3 separate regions of the Homo sapiens genome follow, and regions 1 and 3 are each linked to region 2. Evidence: promoter capture Hi-C in human tissues and cell types (Jung and others, 2019). All regions are on one chromosome and are shown on one strand. Each heading gives the region's core, a stretch centred on a gene start or on the middle of the fragment in contact. The rest is flanking DNA. Distances are from core to core; before and after follow the strand shown. Region 1 overlaps MYO5C (myosin VC). Region 2 holds the start of ONECUT1 (one cut homeobox 1). Region 3 overlaps LOC105370826 (a long non-coding RNA gene).

Region 1 (3,636 bases), core at 383-2,882, 530 kb after region 2:
CAAGGCTTAGAAAGACTCAATAACTTCGTCACAATTGCTCCGCTGGTGGGAGAACCCAGCACAGTTGTGAGGCTCCTGCTTTTGCTTTTCCCACCAAAGGCCCCTGAGGTGTGGAGCCCCAAGGTCCCTTCCCATTCGAATCACAGGGGATGACAAGTCACCTAGGCTTGCACCTTGCCCAAGCCCAGCGGCCAGAGGTGGACTGAACCCAGGTCTCTGATCAACCACCCCCCTACCCCAATCCTTTTCCGTTCTTGGGTGAGAAGGTCTTGGATTTTCCCCAGCCCTCCTCCAGGAGGTCTTACCCTTCATCCCACCCTGGAGTTGGGTTCTTTTTCATTCTCTCTGCCTGGTCCTCCTTTTCTAAACCCCGGGCTCAGCTCGTGCTGAAACAGCTATGGAGTAACCAGAGTGGAAGCTGGCATGGAGGGCTCTGTGGAGATTGTTATCCTTCAGGCTTTTCTAGCAGCTGGCCCCAGTGCCCAGCCCTTGCCCCTCTCCTGGGACCCACCCTGGTTTCTTAACAGGAGAAGGGGAAGATTGACCCATGAAAGGCATCCTGGAGTGTTCCACCTGGATTGGGGGATCTTCCCCACACCATGGCAAAAAGCAGCTCAACCCCATTCCCCATGCAAAGGGGAGAGCTGAGCTCTGGCCTTCACGGCCCTGCTGCTGCCTCCTGGGGAGGAGGGGGACAGGGCCACACCACGCTGTTGGACTTGCACCCAGGTGGAGAGGCAGCTTTTCCCATAGCTGTCAAATGGGAGACAGTCAAGGGAGCTGCTTTGTTTAATTTAGATCCTAAGTTAATACATATGGCTCCCAATTAATAGTACGTGTCAACAGTTATAAAATGCTTAATACATTACTGGGATAGCCTAGTCAATTATTTACCTTGTCTTCTTCCCAGAAAGTGTTTGAGCAGCCAGTTAAAAGCTTAAGTGAACTTTTAAAAATGGATAGTCCTCATTAAAAATAGTCCTGTTTCATTGTGGTGGAAATACGTAATTATTCTGTTATTCCCTGTTCTTTTGGGTGTTTTTAAGATGTATTTTTAAATGACAGTCCTTTATTTTAACAGTATATTATTTCTTTCTTTTTTTTCTTTTTTTTTTTTTTGAGACGGAGTCTTGCTCTGTTGCCCAGGCTGGAGTGCAGTGGCACCATCTCGGCTCACTGCAACCTCTGCCTCCCAGGTTCAAGCGATTCTCCTGTCTCAGCCTCCTGGGTAGCTGGGACTACAGGCACCTGCCACTACGCCCGGCTGATTTTTTTTATTTTTAGTAGAGACTGGGTTTCACCGTATTAGCCAGGATGGTCTCGATCTCCTGACCTTGTGATCTGTCCATCTCGGCCTCCCAAAGTGCTGGGATTACAGGCGTGAGCCACTGCACCCAGCCATTATTTCATATTTTTATCTAACAGATGTTTATGTCCCAGGCACTGTGTTGGAGGCAGTGGTTGAACAGCATAGATGTACGGCTCCTGCCACCGTGGGACTGAGACTGGTGAGGGCAGCAGGCCGGCAGTAGAGGTTAGGATGAGTCCTGGGAAGGGAGGAAGGTGTGCTGGAGGTTAGCAGAGGGTGGGGACAGAGCAAGGGCAGCCATGTGCAAGGAGTAGTGAGCTGGACGGTGGCCCCCAGGCAGGATCCAGAACCACTGTAATAAGGAATTTGAATTTTTCAGCTATGTGGAAAAACCTGAGACAAGAGTATTTATAAATACACAAAGACTTGTTAGAGTAAATTATTTTAAGATTCCTCTCAAAAATTCTAACAATAGCCTGTTTGCTGCCACCCTTGAGTTCATGATACGCCTCCAAAAAAATCAGCTTTCCTCTAGGCAGCAGGGCTGCAGCCTGGGGCCAAGCCTTTCCCGCCCCCTCCAGCAGCCTCGCTTCTAGGCTAACCCTCGCCTAGGCATACCTGCAACTTTTGAGAAAGCTCTTTTTGACTTGGAAATAAGGAAGCCTCAAAGGAAGACTTAGCATCTTTGAAAGCCAGTAAAGCTGAAGCTGTGAGCTTCAAGGTCTAAGCTGAGAGTGAATGAAGGCTGGTGACTCCCCAGCCTGTCGTGTATTTATGTTCTTTGGACCCAGAGTTGGAAAAACCTGGGTCTGGGGGTCAGACCCCTGGGAATGAGCTCCGTAGCATACCAGTTACGTGACCTCAAGAAAGTCACAGAACCTCTCCAAGCCTTAGTTTCTGCATCTACAAGATGGGGCCTCTCTTGCAGGGTGATTTTGAACATATGATGGAAGAAATTATGCAGGTACCTTGAAAACCATAAGCATGGTTCCAGTGTGAAGTGTTTTCATAGCCAATGTGCCTCTAGCATTTTAAGTCACAGATCTAGGTCTTTCCATGGGTCCTAAACTTCAGATTTTTGTGCCCCAAAATAATGCATTGATGTTTGACATTTTGCCAGGTTCTAGAAAGCCCTGCCCTTGGCCCCAGCTGTGAGCTGCAGAGCTCAGTGAGACCCTTTTTAATCTTCCCCCAGGCCCAGCCCTGGCCTTGCTTCCATGAGCAGACCAGCCTCCGAATCTCTGAGCCACCAAGGCTGCGTGTGGAATGGGGCTGTCAGAGCTGCTATGAATCACCCTGGAGCTGTCTAGAGGACAGTCCAGGTTCTTACCCTGCCCAGGAATTCCAGATTGAGCCAAACCAGCTCAGTCAAGTGAGACTCCCAGGGGACCTGTGATAGGAGCCGGCAGGAACCTCTCAGGATTAGAGCGATTAAGAACAAAGCTTTGGAGGCACCAAGCACTGGGGTCGAATTGCATTTCTGGCACCACTTGCTGGCTGTTGGTCCTCACCATGGTCACTCCTTCTCTGACCCTCGTGTGTGACAGTGGAGTCACAGGAGCCCTTCACATAGGGCTGTGTTAGGGTTATAGGAGGTGACGTGCATAAATGCTGACACCTTAAAAGTGCTCAGCAAGCTGCCTTCCAGCAGGAGCTCATCTGGCCAGGTGGTAAATTTGGTGCCTCTGTTTTGTTCGGCCCACGTTTTGCAGAGTGGGATTATTCACTTAAAAGTCCCAGTTTTCTGACTTTTCTTAAGAATCAATTAATCTAACATCCTGGGCCGCATTCATCCATGGCTACATCCGGCAGGAGCTGAGTAGCAGCTGCCTCCCCAAGGGCTCCTCTCAGTTCTTGAGCTTGCAACTCCAAGGCAACTGCAGAGGCAGCTGATGAAAGTCTGAATATGGAAGCCAGCCATGTCTGTCTCGTCCCTGATGGGGTGTGCTGGGCTGTAGGATATGAAATGACTTTGCCCTTTTCCTCTAGGAGCTATGAAAGCACCCCTTAGGGAGGCAAAATTGTGCTGCAGTTGTGCTGCTCCTCCCCTCAACAGACAAGGAGAGAATAGGAAACCACATTGCCTTCTCATTGGAGGCACAGGCATCACAGTCAGGCAGCTTCGCAGCTAAGTTCTGACACAAGCTGTGTGACCTTTGGCAAGTTTCTTAACCTCTCGGGCTTATTTTCTGACCTATAAAGTCAGAATAATAATTGCCAATATCACTGTTGTTGTGCGGACTACACCATATGGTGACATGCTTATTTTAATGCCTGGCTTGAGGTAGGTGTTTTATACCTACCAGATTTCTTCCGGGGGACAACCA
Region 2 (3,544 bases), core at 392-2,891:
GTTGCCCTGGTGGTAGCAGGGACCTGGGCAAAGAGATAGGCCTACTCATGCCTGGGCCGGTGGGAACTTTTCCCAAAGGGTTGGCCAGCCCAAACTTTTGCCTTGGAAACCCAACTACCACCACTACCACAGCCTTGGCCTCTCTAAGGGCTTGGGAGCATTTGCAGTGGAAACACCACGGGTGGGCTGCAGTTCGGTGCCCCAGCAAGCAAACCTACAGTCTGAGTCTGGCCCAGCACAGGCTACACACACTTTATTCCATATCTGAGTCCAGATACCCCGGCTCTGAGAGGCTATTCTCATTGTAACCACCGCTTGCCTGGGGCTGAGGCTCGGCGCTGACCCGGCCATAACTGCCACGGGCTGGACAATGGGCACATCTGTCCTTTCTCTGAGGGATGAAAGCACCTAAGCGGACACGGCTCTGCCTTTTGTTGCGGATTTTTTTTCTTTCTTTTGTAAATGAAAGAAAGCCGCGGCATGTGGCGGCCGGGTGTACGTCTCAAACTGGGGGCCTCCGCACACGTCCCCACCAGGCCCAAAGACCAGGTTCGATTCCAGATTGGAGCGTGACTGTGGGAAGGGCGAAATTACTCCCGAAGCTGAATTGATTTTCAAATCTGGAGGCGTCTCTCGGGGACGCCGGGAAAAGGGCGTCCCTAGGGGCCAAGCGGAGACCCGCGCGCCGGCGTCCACCCTGTCTGCGTCAGTACTTCTGGAAAGCAACCGCCTCCGGGTGCTTTAGCAGGAGGGCCTTGGGAGTAACCGCAGGGACGGCCCGAGCCTCCACGGCCCCACCAGCACCCGGAAGTTAACATGGGTACCCTCCAGGGCACTCCCTCCGCTCTCCCTCGCCCCCCTCCACAGGCCGAGTCATCGGCGAAGCGGACGCACAGCCTTAATTATGAGCTGAGCGGGAGAAGGAGCCAGGCGGCGGGGGACAGTGAGGTATGGCCCGAACTGGGATTCTTGGCACTGATTACTCCTCTCCCCAGGGCATGGATGAGAAAGGGTGGGCAAGTATGTATCTGGGAGGACGAAGGGTGCCGGGTCAACGGCCGCCAAACGGACCCAGCCCTTTAAGCAATCTGCACCCCACCCCACCCCAACCCCCATCCCCCAATAGGCCGTGAATTCAAGGGTGGGAAAGCGCACTCCCAGCAGCCCCCCGGGAAATAAAGCTTAGTGGGCTAGAGCCGAAGGGGTGATGACACAGTCCCCAGCTCCCCGGGCAAGCTGCACCGGGAAGCAGCAACTGGAGAGAGAGGGGCGATGTCTCCAAGCACAGCACTCCAGCCGCTAGAAGCCCGACACGAGCGTCCCCGGGCTGGGAGGACAGAGCCCACTCAAGCAAGGGAGGCGAGCGAGCCAGGCGCGAGTCTCCTGGGATTGCAGCGGCGGCCCCAGGTCGCGCTCTGCGCCAATCTTTCGCACGTGCCCGCAGCTCCCTGGCCATCCAGCGCCGCAGGGAAGGCGCTGGGCCCCCTCCTTCATTTGTACCGGGACGCCAAGGGCCTGGCGCGCCGCGACCTAGGGGGCGGGGGCGGGCCTCGCGCATGCGCGCTGCGCCTGGCGGGCGTGAGGGCGGGCCGCTGCGGCGGCGGCGGCGGCGGCTACCGAACCGCGGCCACAGAGTCTGTAACAGTAACAGAGCCATGGCTCAAGCTGGCCAGCGGGGCGGGCAGGCAGCAGACGCGGCAGGCGCGCGGGCCGCGGCAGGGGAGCCGGAGACCTCAGAATTTTAAGAAAGAGAGGGGCGAGAGGTGGCCGAGGCGGGCGGGCTGGGGCACTGCGCTCTCCCAACGGCGCGGATCCTCTTTGGAAATTAATATTAAAAAAAAAAAAGCCGAGGACGCAGAGGGGAAGGTGGGGGGTAAGAGGGAAGGCGAGACACACACACACACACACACGCACACGCACACACGGACACACACACACGGAGAGAGAGAGAGAGAGAGACAGAGCCCCACAGTGAGAGGAAGGAAGGCAACAGTCGCCAGCAGCCGATGTGAAGACCGGACTCCGTGCGCCCCTCGCCGCCTCTGCCTGGCCACATCGATGTTGTGTCCGCCGCCTGCTCGCCCGGATCACGATGAACGCGCAGCTGACCATGGAAGCGATCGGCGAGCTGCACGGGGTGAGCCATGAGCCGGTGCCCGCCCCTGCCGACCTGCTGGGCGGCAGCCCCCACGCGCGCAGCTCCGTGGCGCACCGCGGCAGCCACCTGCCCCCCGCGCACCCGCGCTCCATGGGCATGGCGTCCCTGCTGGACGGCGGCAGCGGCGGCGGAGATTACCACCACCACCACCGGGCCCCTGAGCACAGCCTGGCCGGCCCCCTGCATCCCACCATGACCATGGCCTGCGAGACTCCCCCAGGTATGAGCATGCCCACCACCTACACCACCTTGACCCCTCTGCAGCCGCTGCCTCCCATCTCCACAGTCTCGGACAAGTTCCCCCACCATCACCACCACCACCATCACCACCACCACCCGCACCACCACCAGCGCCTGGCGGGCAACGTGAGCGGTAGCTTCACGCTCATGCGGGATGAGCGCGGGCTGGCCTCCATGAATAACCTCTATACCCCCTACCACAAGGACGTGGCCGGCATGGGCCAGAGCCTCTCGCCCCTCTCCAGCTCCGGTCTGGGCAGCATCCACAACTCCCAGCAAGGGCTCCCCCACTATGCCCACCCGGGGGCCGCCATGCCCACCGACAAGATGCTCACCCCCAACGGCTTCGAAGCCCACCACCCGGCCATGCTCGGCCGCCACGGGGAGCAGCACCTCACGCCCACCTCGGCCGGCATGGTGCCCATCAACGGCCTTCCTCCGCACCATCCCCACGCCCACCTGAACGCCCAGGGCCACGGGCAACTCCTGGGCACAGCCCGGGAGCCCAACCCTTCGGTGACCGGCGCGCAGGTCAGCAATGGAAGTAATTCAGGGCAGATGGAAGAGATCAATACCAAAGAGGTGGCGCAGCGTATCACCACCGAGCTCAAGCGCTACAGCATCCCACAGGCCATCTTCGCGCAGAGGGTGCTCTGCCGCTCCCAGGGGACCCTCTCGGACCTGCTGCGCAACCCCAAACCCTGGAGCAAACTCAAATCCGGCCGGGAGACCTTCCGGAGGATGTGGAAGTGGCTGCAGGAGCCGGAGTTCCAGCGCATGTCCGCGCTCCGCTTAGCAGGTGAGCCGGCCAAGGAGCTGGGCGCGCGGGAGATAAGGTACACGAAAGCCGAAGGGACCAAAGGAGGAAGGGTAGGAGAGAGGGCTGGGTGCGCTTCATCCCGCCCGCCCCTACCCCTAGAAGGGGGACTCCCTGTGCCTGGAAGGGCCAGCACAGGGCTGTGGGAGCAAATTGCCTACTCCAGGGCTCAGGGTGTTGGGCTGTGGAAGGCTCCGAGAGCTAAGCGGCCGGGCCTCGGCGACTGAAGAGGCTCATTTGCGCTCAGGGACAGCGAGGGAAGCTCGTACGGCCTGAGGCGGAGAGAAATCCCCGCACCTGGTGAGACACTCTGCGCCACCTCTCAGTTC
Region 3 (3,902 bases), core at 631-3,130, 720 kb before region 2:
CACAAAGTGGAAAAATTAGGAGAGGCAGTAGAAAATTTTAAGACTAATTCAATTAGAGGGGGTCTTGTGTGAAAAATAATATTAATGAGAGCTCTACAAAGAATAAACAGAGAAATCAGGGGGAAGAAAATTATGTAAAACAAAATCAAGCAAACTTTCCAGAACTGATGAAACCAAATTTCAGATTGAAAGAACCTATGGTGTGCTCAGCAAAATTCATAAAAATGACCCATATCAAGGTACATTTTAGTGAAACTTCAGAATATTAGAGCAAAAGAAATGTTCTTAACATTAGAAAAGGAAGGATAACTTTTGCTCAATACAAATAATTAGGAATCCGTATGGCATTAGAGCTCTTAATTGCAATTCTGGATGCCAGAAGAAAATGTGGCAATGACTTAAATATCCTGATGAAAACCATCACCTTCCTAGAATTATACTTAGGCAATCTATTTCTTCCATGCACTCTTTCCCATGAAATTGCTGGAGGATATGATCCACCTACAAAATGGAGTAAACCAGAAAAGTTTAGCATATGCAACATGGGAATGAAGAAATGTCCACAGAGGACAGGGAAGGCAGATGGCATGTCTACTGCTGTGCTCAAGCCTAGAAAGCAGCTGGTCTAGATTTTAGCAGAAAGTAGAGGATTCCCATAGGGACGTCTCCAGGACAACAACGGAACTGACAGATTACTCGGTAAGTCTGACTCTACTGAGAGTAATGTTAGAGTTCTGTCAATGGGCTTGGGTCATGAAGTAGTGAAGTATTGTATATGACAGAAAACTAAACGAATAAAAAAGAAGGAGAAATAGAAGAAATGTAATCATAGTGTATTACATGACCCAACTGTAGTAATTCTAGTACTAATTATTACCAAATAATTATTACTCTAACAAAAAGATATAATGAAACTATCAGGAGGATGAGGGAATTGTGTGAAGGGAATGGATGGGAGAAAGGAAAGCTAAATCCTTATTCTCTATAAATCAATAACGTGGGCTGGGCACAGTGGCTCACGCCTAGAATCCCAGCACTTTGGGAGGCTGAGGCAGGTGGATCACCTGAGGCCAGGAATTTGAGACCAACCTGGCCAACATGGCAAAACTCTGTCTCTATTAAAAATACAAAATATTAGCCGAGCATGGTGGCAGGCACCTGTAACCCCAGCTAGTCGGGAGGCTGAGGCAGGAGAATTTCTTGAACCCAGAAGGCAGAGGCTGCAGTGAGCCGAGATCATGCTATAAATATAATTTTTTAAAAAGCACTAAAATTAGGAACTTTAATTCATCTGAAATAATGGGTAAATTCCCACTTTACAAATTTTGTTATAGCAAATGTTGGCATATTTAATTTATTTACAAAAAAGAGTTATCTGGAATCTTTTAGTATTTCATCTCTATTAGCCTTCTTTGTGTATGGCCCTGTAGTTGCATTTCTCTGATTGTTTAGGGCTGTAACTTAAGAAACTACCCAGGTCTTACAGTTCCTCTGAACTCCACAGAAATGTCACCCAGTTGATGCTGTTCTACCCCAGTTGGCCACTACCCGGTCTTTGGAGTAATGCAAAGCCTACTGATGTGGCTTGCAGGCAGGAATTTTCCTGCACTATGGCCCCGGTTGGTAATGATCCTCCTTTGTAACTTGATTAATGAGTGTTATGTGTGATTAATGAGTGGGATGATGAAACATTAAACAGCTGAATACAATATTGAGTATCTGGCTGTTCAGAAGGTCACTTTTGGATATCAGCTAAAAATATTGGTGAAAAATATTCTATGCCTGCATAGCTGTCTAGGGACCTAGAAGGCCACCTACTTCTTTGCCTCTCAAAAAGTTATTCCAAAGTGTTGTCAGAAGAAAAGCATAATAGTATACAAAAGTAGCTCCAAAGTAGAACACTGGAGCTGTGAAATTTTTTCTCATCTTGTAGTTTATCTTTTAAAATTCATTTAAATTTTGCGTTCATATACATTTGTGTTTGTTAAATACATACTCTTCTAACAGCTAACATTTACTGAACATTTTATGGCTGTGCTGTGCCTAGTACTTTACATATAGTTTCTTAATCTTCACAGCTATTTTATAGGATAGATTTTATCCTTATTAGGTATAAAAGGAAACAGAAACACAGACAGGTTGAGTAATTTGCTGAAGACCACACAGCTAGTAAACAGTGGGAAAAGGAATTAAACATTACAGCATAGTTTCTAAGCATGCAGCCTTTGCTTTCTGACTCTTTGGAATCATTCAGTCTTTTATAACTGCCTTTCTTATCTATGGTTCCCAGTTTTTCATAAGGGGTATTAGGACTGCATTTTAAAAATCATGAATCCGTTTCATCTACTCTCGTTCGTTATGACAGAAACCAGTAGAATCAATGTCATCACTTTTAACAAATATTGATCAACAAATTATTGATTTGATTAAAAAACCTATAGGTGTTATATTCCTGGCATTAATACTATCAATGTATTTGTATCAATTTCCTGGAAGCCCTTAGTGGAGGGTCACTTTGGAAACAGTGGGCTGGATCTAGGTGTTCTTTTGCTCCATTGATAACACTCTCTACCAGCTAGGCACCAAATCACATGGACCAGGAGTCTTGCAATGTCAGATTCAGCAATGTGTGGCCTTCACCATTATGTTATATTGCTGACCACTCACATCTTTCTGTCCTCATATTTAACAATGCAATAGTCAGATTTAATGGCCATTTTCAAGCTTCATGTTTTAGATGTCCTTGGTGGTATGTACATTCCCATCTATTCCCATGGTATTGAACTTGTTATCTTTGCATTGATTGCTAGCCTACATTGTGGGGTTCCCTGAGTGAATATACCATACATTCTTGGCGCCCTCAATGTTGTGTGGTCACAGAGTACTCCTATGCACGTAAGGGCTCTTAACCAGGGAAACATCCTTTTGAGTTGAAAGGCTAATGGAATGGACTTCCCAGCCAGAATATCAAGGTTCTTTGACGCATTACAGCAAAAGTCCTTCTCTGGTGTTTCTTGATCAGGAAAACAATTTAAGGATGATTTGAACTCTTTTTCTAAAATTGTCTAAGCTCGATTGTCTAAGGCAGGGGTTTCTCAACCTCAGCACTATTGACATCTTGGGCCAGGGAGTCCTTTGTTTGGTGGGGACTGTCCTTTAAGTTGCAGGATATTTAGCAGCATCCTTGGCCTCCACCACTACATGCCAGTAACTGCCTACCCCCTACTGTTAGGACAAGCAGAAAAATGTCTCCAGACACTGTCAAATGTCTCCTGGAGGGACAAAATTGCACCCAGTTGAAAAAACACTGGTGTAAGGTAAATTCCAACATAAATTCCAATGAAAAAGTTCATAAAGTGTTATATTGAGTTTTATTTATTTCAGAATACTGTCCTCTAGCCTGACTTCAATATAAAGCTCATTTTGGCAATTTTTACATTTACTGTAAGATTAAAAGAAAGTATAGTAATCACTATATTTTTTCCTCTTTTTTCAATGCCTCCTGTTTTCTTAAAACCAGATGCTTCCAAAGCACAGACCCCCTCATGCACAGCTTCACCTCAAGCTCCAAGCTCACATATTCACCTGCATAACCACCATCTTCTCCTGATCATCCCCCAGGAACCTCAGCCCCGTGTTCCACACTGAACTCATTCTCTGACTCAACAAATCTCTTCTTTCCTCACTCCCAGCATAAAATTTGTTTCCAAAAATTTTTTATTTGATTTCCTAAATGGCTCTTGAGTCTGTCCTCTTGGCCTCCCCCTGGTTACATCCTCAGTTCAGACTCATTTCCCATCTGCACTGCAGCAGCGGACTCCTGACTGCCTCCAGTCCATCCTCCACACTGCTGCTCAAGCCAACTCTACAACACAAACCTATTATTTGACTTCCTTGAACAC

The links. Contacts are between HindIII fragments. The study calls those that stand out against the background at their distance.
Region 1: a contact is called between a fragment that was not itself captured here and the fragment with the promoter of ONECUT1 in region 2, in 1 of the 25 tissues and cell types used here (lymphoblastoid cells).
Region 3: a fragment that was not itself captured here is called in contact with the fragment with the promoter of ONECUT1 in region 2 in 1 of the 25 tissues and cell types used here (lymphoblastoid cells).

What each region holds. Positions count from the first base shown.
Region 1 is chr15:52,256,903-52,260,538 of GRCh38, reverse strand. The region is part of intron 10 of MYO5C (myosin VC); the gene reads left to right. Among named protein-coding and RNA genes, the nearest start is that of MIR1266, 18 kb to the left of the region's middle. RefSeq lists enhancers at 1-339, 2,646-3,222. The HindIII fragment of the contact is 4,159 bases long and covers 1-3,636 here.
Region 2 is chr15:52,788,433-52,791,976 of GRCh38, reverse strand. It overlaps ONECUT1 (one cut homeobox 1), which reads left to right and starts at 1,641. Exons shown (of 2, transcript NM_004498.4): 1 at 1,641-3,197. The coding sequence starts at 2,093. It overlaps LOC105370824 (a long non-coding RNA gene), which reads right to left and starts at 1,547. Exons shown (of 2, transcript XR_001751550.2): 1 at 1-1,547. RefSeq lists enhancers at 1-585, 586-1,354, 1,351-1,645 and a silencer at 1,534-1,603. The HindIII fragment of the contact is 12,558 bases long and covers 1-3,544 here.
Region 3 is chr15:53,504,214-53,508,115 of GRCh38, reverse strand. The region is part of intron 1 of LOC105370826 (a long non-coding RNA gene); the gene reads right to left. Among named protein-coding and RNA genes, the nearest start is that of WDR72, 250 kb to the left of the region's middle. The HindIII fragment of the contact is 6,069 bases long and covers 1-3,902 here.